2 separate regions of the Homo sapiens genome follow, and region 2 is linked to region 1. Evidence: promoter capture Hi-C in 16 types of primary human blood cells and fetal thymus (Javierre and others, 2016). All regions are on one chromosome and are shown on one strand. The core of a region is centred on a gene start or on the middle of the fragment in contact, and the rest is flanking DNA. Distances in the headings are between cores, read along the strand shown. Region 1 holds the start of IL17RC (interleukin 17 receptor C). Region 2 overlaps TATDN2 (TatD DNase domain containing 2).

Region 1 (4,561 bases), core at 2,062-4,561:
CTCTGCTCACTGCCCTCCTCCCCCAACTAATGACTGTATTTATACTGTATAGCCTGAAATCTACTATTCACCTTTCTTTCAAGGGGCCTCAATTCTAAAGCAAATGTCCTCAGTAAGAGTGTCACCAGGGCGGGAAAAGGCCCTAGACATTTAAATCCCTGCACCCACCCTGCTGTGCTAGATCACCTGGCCAAAGCTAAGGAGATGAGACACCCCAACACAATATGGCACACCCCTCCCCACAGAAGTGGTTCTCACACTCAACCCAGTGCCTCAGTGTTCCTTACAACTGCTTGTGACATGGACCAAGCAGATGTTCTCCCAGTCTACAATTCTCCAGATAGGATATTGGCTGGGGGCTGGAGGTTGGAGGGAAAGTCAAAGGGTTTGAGTGATTTGACCCCAGTGGAAATAGACCTTCCAGGTACATGTGGCCTCCTAAGGCAGGGAGAAGCCCCAACACCCTGCACCATGGTACTTACACCATGGTAAGTATACCATGGTATGTATGGTAGGACTCTTTCTTTGGTCCAAGAGTACAGAGAAGTGCATCCAGCCCACAGACCTCCCCTCTCCAAGCCTCATTTTATCTATCTGGAAAATGAGGATACTAATAATGCCTCATCAGGTAGTTTTGAGGATTACAAAAGAATTAAATTTATTGAAATTATTCAGTGCCAGGCATTACATCCAGTGTTTTACAGGTACCAACTTAATTTAATTCTCACAACAGTCATGTGAGGTGGGACTATTCTTTTTTTTTGAGACGGAATCTCGCTCTGTCGCCCAGGCTGGAGTGCAGTGGCGCGATCTCGGCTCACTGCAAGCTCCACCTCCCGGGTTCACGCCATTCTCCTGCCTCTGCCTCCCGAGTAGCTGGGTCTACAGGCGCCCACCACCATGCCTGGCTAATTTTTTGTATTTTTTTAGTGGAGGCAGGGTTTCACAGTGTTAGCCAGGATGGTCTCAATCTCCTGACTTCGTGATCTGCCCGCCTCAGCCTCCCAAAGTGCTGGGATTACAGGTGTGAACCACTGTGCCCGGCCAGAACTATTGTTTTTTTATGTGGCAAAAACAAAAACAAAAACAAAAACAAAAAAACTTTAAGAGATATTTCACAAGGAAGTTACACAAATAGCCAATAAGCATGTGAAAAAAGTGCTCAACTTCATCAGTCATTGGAAGATACAAATTAAAACCACAATGGCAAACCACTACATATGCAGAAAAATTATGACAATTACAACACTTATGCTTGTTTTGGCACCACATATACTACAACTGGAACAATACAGAAAAGATTAGCAAGGCCCGTGCCTGAGGATGACATGCAAATTCATGGAGGGTCCCATATATTTAAAATTCAAATATATTTAATTTAAAAATAAAATAAAATTACACCATCAAGTGTTGGCAAAGATGGGAAGCAACTAGGACTCCCATACACTGCTGGTAGGAGGGGAAAATAGTAGAAGCACCCTGAAAAACGCTTGGTGATTTCTCGCAGTCAAGCATATGAAGTAGAACTATTCTCATCCCCATTTTACAGACATAAAAGCTGAGGCATAACAGGCTGAAGGGACTTGCCCACAGCGCTGATCAGAATCAAAAGAATAGTCCCACCTCACATGGCTGTTGTGAGAATTAAATAAGTTGATACCTGTAAAACACTGGCTGTAATGCCTGGTACTGAAGGGTTTCAATAAATTTAATTCTTTTGTAATCCTCAAAGAGATAATGCATGTGAAAAAGTTTTATAGATTTTAGGTTTAGAAGGTGATTATTATTATTTTGCATACCACAGACTGACCAAACTGCACAAGGGCAGCAGGCACTTGCACCTCCAGCAGGACGCAGCGGGCAGTAGGGTAGGCCTGGAAGGAGAGCACGACTTGGGCCTGGAGAGAGGCTGTGGGCAACAGGGCAGGGGTCAGTCAGGCCCAGGAGCGGCAGGCCAGGCCTTGGCATGGGGCAGTTGGGCCAGCCAGGTTCTCCTCACCATTCCTAGGCTCCTCCACCCCTGAGTCAGCTGCTCCTCCAAACTTTTCCTCATCTTCAGGCTCTTCCCAGTGCCCTAGAAGGACCCAAGAGCAAGGCCCTGGGTGAGGCCCCCTGCTCTGGGCTGGCTGGCTTTGGCGTTGGCTTCCTTCTGGAAAGCCCAGTGCTGGGAAGCAGGGGCTGGGGAGACCACACTGGCCTGGGGGTCCTTCTGCTGGTGTCCTCCAGGAGAACACTGAGGATGCCTAGCACTGCTTGAGAGATCCCCTGGCCCTCATGCCCACCCCAGACACACTCACGTGTACACATGCACTGTCACAGGATGACTTGCTCACCATGCACGGCCAAGTGGACAGCCACACGCAGACAGAGGTCACAGTCGGTCTCCTTCTGGCACCTCAGCACCAGCTCTGTCTGCAGGTGCGTAGGCGCCAGCACGGGGCCCGGAGCAGGCACGATGTCCCCAGGCAGGCAGAGTATGTCACTGTCTGTGTGTGGAGGAGCGGGTGGGAGCTGAAGCTGTTCCAAGCCCAGAATTTGGTGGCACCTGACATACCCAGAGAGCCAAAGAACTTGGCTGTCCTAGGCTGAGGTGGGCATGGAGGGCATGGGCCTGGGACAGCTCTGCTCCCTTCGGCCAACCTGGGAAATTCTTTTTAAAAGTAGGGATACTTACCCCAGAGGCGGCAGGAGAGGCCCTGGGAAGGAAAGAAAGGAGAGTCAGAATTTGTGCCCCCACCATCTAGGCACTGTTCTCTGCCTAAGACCTCCACCTACCTTTTTCTGGGGCTCCGTATTCCCAGACCCTCCCAGAGAAAGACAGACCCAGCTCTTGCCCCTTCCCCGTTCTTCTCTTCTACCATCAGCACCAGACAGACCAGACAGGGCAGTTCTGGCAGTGGCAGCAGTGACAGGAGCCAGGCTAAGGCTTTGCTGAGCCAAAAACTGAACCCTGAGCCTTTCCTCGTCTCCCCAGGGTTCCAGACTCACCGGAGAGCAGTGGGTAGCGTCCTGAGGCCCCACAAGCCTCTCCAGAGAAAGGACCACTGGGCTTCGGCCCAGTGCCAAGGACAGCAAGAACCAGGGCACAGGCATCTTCTAGGTGCCAGGTGGCACCCAGGCCTGAGGCCCTGTGCTGCCCCCCCCCAAGGGGGGCAGACACCCCAGTCAGCCCGTGTCTGTGGGTGGCAGGGGCTGGAATCCCTCTTCAGCCTCCAGAGGGGGCGGAGGGGGCTGTGCTGGGTAGTTTGTGCACTCTCTGTCCTGGGAGTCCTGACTCTCCTCCTACTTCCAGCACGGAGTGCTTTCGTTTTGGCTCCCGGCAGGCTGCTGGCTGTTCCCGCCCCTCTCTGTCCCTCCCACCAACACCAGGCTTGGGAGCCAGCAGCCTTGGACTAGGGTGGTGGCCGCACCTCCTCCTTCTTTGGCTCTCCTCTCCCTCTGCTGACACCTGGCTGGGAGGGGCCCCTGAAGAAGACAGCGAATGCATCACGGCTGAGTAAGGGAGCTCTTACTCACCCCCGGAGCCCTAAGGAGGACACAGCCCTGGAGTCCTGGGCCCACTAAGTCTCCCCTTACTAGGCACACTCGGTCCCTTCAGACACTCTTTGGGCCTCGGTAACCCTTTGTGGGACAGGAGCTCTAAAAGCACGGACAAAAGGCACCAGAAAGTGGGCTTTTCACCACTGCCTGGCTCAAATGCGGTATGGGGAGTAGAAGGAACCCAGGACCCCAGAGCCTGGCAGACAGGGGTCCCATCTGTGCTGTTGCTGTGGGCCGGCTGTGTGATGATGGACACACCATCTGGCGAAGCCTCTGTTTTCCTCTCCTCTTGTAAGAATCACTGGGGGGGATCAAGGAGATTGCCCCATCCTCCTTTGCTTTTGGAGGCATTGCTTGTAAGAATGTGACGGATGCCATGCGGTATGGACACAGAGGATTTGGGCCAGCACACTGACACATACCCCACCAGGCAGGCTCCCCAGCCACACTAGAGAAGCACACTGTGTTTTCTTAGTTTGTCATGTTTGTCTTTATTCATCTTTCCGGATCTTGGTCCCCACCGCCAGCACCCACCCACCCCACCCCCAACCCCCACTGTCCTGACCACCTGGAGCCAAAAGCCTCTTTTCCTAGGTCCAGAGTCCTCTCTCCCTCTGGCCAGAGCCTCAGAGTGGGAAAGGGAATCCCTGGCCCCCAAGGAGGTTTTCTCTCAGCCGCCCCCTGCAATCCCCCACCGCCTCACCCTCCTTCAGAACTGACATGGCTCCTGCCTCCCTACCCCGGCCCCAACCTCTCCAGCCTGGACTGAAGCATAAGCACACTGCTCTTTCTGGAGTTCTGGAGAGGAAGTGGGAAGACCGCCCTCCCCCATCAGAACAGGGGTTAGAGGAGCTCTCAGTCAAGGGAAAGTATGAGGAGGAAGAGGGACGCGCGCGGGGACTGGGCTGGGACTTCCGGCCTGTGAGGCAGGGAATGCGGCTTTTCGGCCAGTCGTCCTCGAGGCACCCCAAGGATTTCAGGGTCGAAGGCTCATTCCGGGGTTCCAGCCAGTGTCCGTTGC
Region 2 (4,446 bases), core at 1,433-3,932, 340 kb before region 1:
CTGGGCACCTTGGGAACTGGAGGAACTGGAGTTACAGAAGAACATTAAAAGGAGGAGGACAGGGTGAAATCTGGTTTCCAATGAGTTAGATCCCAGATTCCCTCCTCATACTCAGAGAAGGTGAGTTGTTTGAAGACAGTAAAACAAGAGGATCTCTAGAATAAGGCCTGGTCAGCTCAGTGGAGGGCACTGGTACTGCACCAAAAAGACAAAGATTAAGTGAATGCTGACGCCGCCCCCGCAGCCGCCCCTTTCGCTACCCAGCTCCCAGCCACCTTTCCTCCTAAGCAGGCTGAAAAACACTCCTCTGGGCAAGGTGACCAGTCTCGAGGCTTTCCTAAAAGCAGTGACATGGCAAGGGGAAGAGGGTTATATTCTCCCGATCATCCCAAAGCAAAGCTCAAAGTCTTTACGCTCAGAGCTTCCAAACAGCTTTTTAATCCTCCCATTCTTGATCATAAACAGACAACCAAAGATTACCAGACATGTGAAGGCAGCCTCTAACACAGAAGAGATCAAAAGAAACGGAAAGAAGCAACTTAAAGAAAACTAAAACCAAGCCAAAAAACTACCATGAACTCCCTAAAAGAGATAACAGAAGATGAAACAAGAACAGAGATGTTATTAAAAAACAAAAGAGCTCTTGGATAATAAAAAGCATGACAGTAGAAAAGTAAAACTAAATAAACAGCTGGGTTGGAAGATAAAGAAAAGGAAATATCCTACAAAGTAAAGCAAGAAATTGGCTAGAAACAAGGGAGAAAGGCAATAAAATTACAGGACCAGTCCTGAAAAATCCAACATCCAAATAAGAGAAAGAAGGTAGAGAAGCTAGAGAGAGAAAGAGAGAAGAAAAATACGGAAAGAAAACATCAGCGAAGTACAGTAATTCACGAACTTTTCCCACAGCTAAAGTACAAGGGTTTCTAGATTGAAAGGGAATGTCCCATGCTAAGCAAAGTAGACACCACCACCATGAAATTTCAGAGCCCTGAGATCAAAATATATTCTACAAGATTCCACAGAGGGAAAAAAAAAAAAAATACAGGTTGGGCACGGTGGCTCACACCTGTAATCCCAGCACTTTGGGAGGCTGAGCCGGGCGGATCATGAGGTCAGGAGTTCGACACCAGCCTCACCAAAATGGTGAAACCCCATCTCTACTAAAAATACAAAAATTAGCCGGGTGTGGTGGCACATGCCTGTAATCCCAGCTACTCACAAGGCTGAGGCAGGAGAATCGCTTGAACCTGGGAGGTGAAGATTGCAGTGAGCTGAGATCACGCCACTGGACTCCAACCTGGGTGACAGAGCAAAACTCTGTCTCAAAGCAAAAGAAAATAAAAAATAAAAAATCATATACCAAGGTTCAGGAACCAGCATAGCTTCAGACATCAAGAAAACCAGAAGAGGCCAGGCGAAGTGGCTTACACCTGTAATCTCAGTACTTTGGGAAGCCTAGGCAGGTGGATCACCTCAGGTCAGAAGTTTGAGACCAGCCTGGCCAACATGATGAAACTCTGTCTCTACCAAAAATACAAAATTAGCCAGGTGTGGTGGCGTGTGCCTGTAATCCCAGCTACTCGGGAGGCTGAGACAGGAGAATCACTTGAACCCAGGAAGTGGAGGCTGCAGTGAGCCAAGATCACACCAGTGCACTCCAGCCTGGGCAAGACAGAACGAGACTCCACCTCAAAAAAAAAAAAAAAAAAAAAAAAGCCCAGAAGAAAAGGAGCAATGCCTTCAAAATCCCAAACAAAACAATTTCCAACCTGGAATTCCAAAACCAACCAAGCTTGTAATCAAGGTTAAAGGTAAAATAAAGGCAATCTCAGACACATGTTTACCAAAAAAAGTTTCTCCATGTACCCTTTCTCAAGAAGCTACTAGAAAAAGTATTCCACCAAAATGTGAGAGTAAACCAAGGAAGAAGAACATGAGAAGACACAGAGTATAGGTAGCAGAAGACTCAATCCGGGAGAAATGTGAAGGAGGCTCCAGAGAGACAGCTGCCAGCTGGCCTGACGGCAGGCAGTCCAGACCAGAGCAGGACAACAGAGGGCTGAGGACGTATACCTCCAAGAGAGAAAAAAAAGAAACAGATTCCTTATTTTGACAGTATTGAGAAGGATTTTACAGCTCTCGCAGTTTGGGGATTAATTAGTGAAAGGTACCAGGAAAACCAAAGGAAAAACAAAGTAATGATGAACTTTAAGGAAAATGAAGTTTTACAAGAAAGAAAATGTGATCAGAGTATACAAGGCGACTCAGCTGTGAACATGGCAGTAACAAATCTTACACAGACTTAACCCAAAAGGTATTCAAGCCACACAGGGAGGCTGCAGAAAGGGGAAGCTAATGTGTCCCTGGGTGTGGGTGCTTCTGAAGGAGGTATAGAGAACTAAATTCTCATCGCCCAAGCAAGAAGTCCTCAGACATCTAAAACTGAAAAACTGATCAACAGTAAAGATTATTTAGAAACATGGGGTAAGTACTAGAAGAAAGAGCTAAAGATGAGAGAAGCTGCCTGCAGAGCAGTAGTAAAGGATGGGTGGAGACGAGTAAGATGGAGGAATGTGGCCTGGCACAGTGGCTCATGCCTGTAATCCCGGCACTTTGGGAGGCCAAGGCAGGTGGATCACGAGGTCAGGAGTTCGAGACCAGCCTGGCCAACATGGAGAAATCCCATATCTACTAAAAATACAAAAATTAGCCGGTTTGGTGGCGCACACCTGTAATCCCAGCTACTCAGGAGGCTGAGGCAGGAGAATTGCTTGAACCCAGGAGGTGGAGGTTGCAGTGAGCCAAGATTGCACCATCGCACTCCAGCCTGGGCAACAGAGCAAGACTCTGTCCCAACAACAAAAAAAAAAAAAAAAAGAAAAAGATGGAGGAATGCTTCCCCTCAATTATAAGCTATGTTAAAAATCACTAGTTTCCGTCCAATGACATCCTTCCCTTCTTCTCTGGTTATCCAGGTACAAGTCTGCCTAGATAAAGGCTGATTTTCCAGACTCCCTTGCAGCCAGGTGTCAGCCGGGTTTCCCCGCTCTTGTCAACAGCAGATACAACATGTGCAACTCTTGAGCCAAGCTCTTAACAGGGAAGGAATGCACTCTCCTCTTCTCCCCTTCCCACTGGCCAGAATGCCCAGATAACAAACCCTGAGTCCTATCAGAGTATCCATTTCACACCAAGAGATGGACACTGTGTTGAGGGGTGATAGAGAATCAAGACAAAAGGTACCAGTATCTCTGACATGATGGAGCCATCCTTCTTAAGCCAAACTTATATTCTGTTTAAGCCACTGTGATTTTGGCCTTTTACACAGCAGCTAAACCCATATCCTAACATATAAATCCTTCAAAAAAAAAAAAAAGCACTTAGTTTAGGTTTATTAATAACTCTGAAAATCTGAAAAGTATGTTAGAAGAAAACCATCAGTTTGTTCCCTGGAGGCCTGGTTAAGTAAAGTACTATTTTTAATTAGTAACACTTAGGATCAAACTAGAAAGATGGAACACATTTCATCAACAGAACTAAAAAGTCAGATGCCTGGTACAAGCTTTACTCACCTTTTGGATTTCTAAATGAGAGTCAGAGTCATCCAAGAACTCTAGGGGTGGAGAGCATTTGTCAATGACAGTCCTTCGGTCCCCAAGGGGCTCCTCACTGGGTTTCTCTTGAGGGTCTATAACTACTCTCCTGTCATAGAAGCTGCTCCTCTCTGGCACTGTCTTATCCTCCTCCATGCTGACCTCTGGGGTTGCGTCTTTCTCCTTCTGAGCAGCAGTGACTGTGACACTCCTGGCTGCTCCTTCTGCAGTCTTGGCTGGTCCTTCACTCCTGGCTGGTCCTTCTCCATGGCTGGGATGCTCTGCTGCGCTTGGTTTTGCCCGAGTGGCAGCCTCTCCCTTCCTTTTTGGCATCGATTTCCCCAGGATGCCCTGGATAGCCTTCAGGTAGATCATTGTGGAGCCCTGGTCTCGAAGTCTATCCCTCTTCCTTTTCTGGACCTTGTTGGGTTCCTCAATTGTATCATTCTGACCCTCAGCTTCAGCTGCAAATTCAGAGTTTGTGGAGTTATGAGAACTATCTTTGGAATCAACCTGGGAAAAAAAAAACAGAATTGAAAGGGCTGTTCCAAGGGCACTTTCGTACATGAAGCATTTGGCAAATTATAAATCAGTGGTGGTTCTACCAGTCAAAGGGAAAGTGACTGTGGCTAAGGCAAAGGTTCTCTCCGGGTGGTGAAGTGGCACTGTAAGAGGGGCTGATTGCTGCCATTTCTTAGCATTCGCCTTCTCATGCTCAGCAGATGATATCCTTTCACTGCAAGGGGACGGAAGGAGCTGAAATGAACACTCTCATTAAACCAGACTGCAAGCTCCTGGAAGGCAAGGACTACACTTCAGGCAAAACAGCAGCTCAAGCTCTTCCCACTGG

The links. Contacts are between HindIII fragments. The CHiCAGO score rates a contact against its expected background, and 5 or more counts as called.
Region 2: a fragment that was not itself captured here is called in contact with the fragment with the promoter of IL17RC in region 1 in 7 of 17 cell types (naive CD4 T cells, activated CD4 T cells, non-activated CD4 T cells and 4 more); the score reaches 8.1 in naive CD4 T cells.

Annotation. Positions count from the first base shown.
Region 1 is chr3:9,915,848-9,920,408 of GRCh38, reverse strand. It overlaps IL17RC (interleukin 17 receptor C), which reads right to left and starts at 3,311. Exons shown (of 19, transcript NM_153460.4): 1 at 2,989-3,311; 2 at 2,675-2,696; 3 at 2,334-2,486; 4 at 2,000-2,074; 5 at 1,800-1,909. The coding sequence starts at 3,093. It overlaps IL17RE (interleukin 17 receptor E), which reads right to left. Exons shown (of 16, transcript NM_153480.2): 16 at 4,012-4,561. It also overlaps the pseudogene RNU6-882P. RefSeq lists enhancers at 3,400-3,589, 3,519-4,058. The HindIII fragment of the contact is 19,830 bases long and covers 1-4,561 here.
Region 2 is chr3:10,259,800-10,264,245 of GRCh38, reverse strand. It overlaps TATDN2 (TatD DNase domain containing 2), which reads right to left. Exons shown (of 8, transcript NM_014760.4): 3 at 3,576-4,109. Among named protein-coding and RNA genes, the nearest start is that of TATDN2, 14 kb to the right of the region's middle. RefSeq lists a silencer at 122-311. The HindIII fragment of the contact is 1,770 bases long and covers 1,798-3,567 here.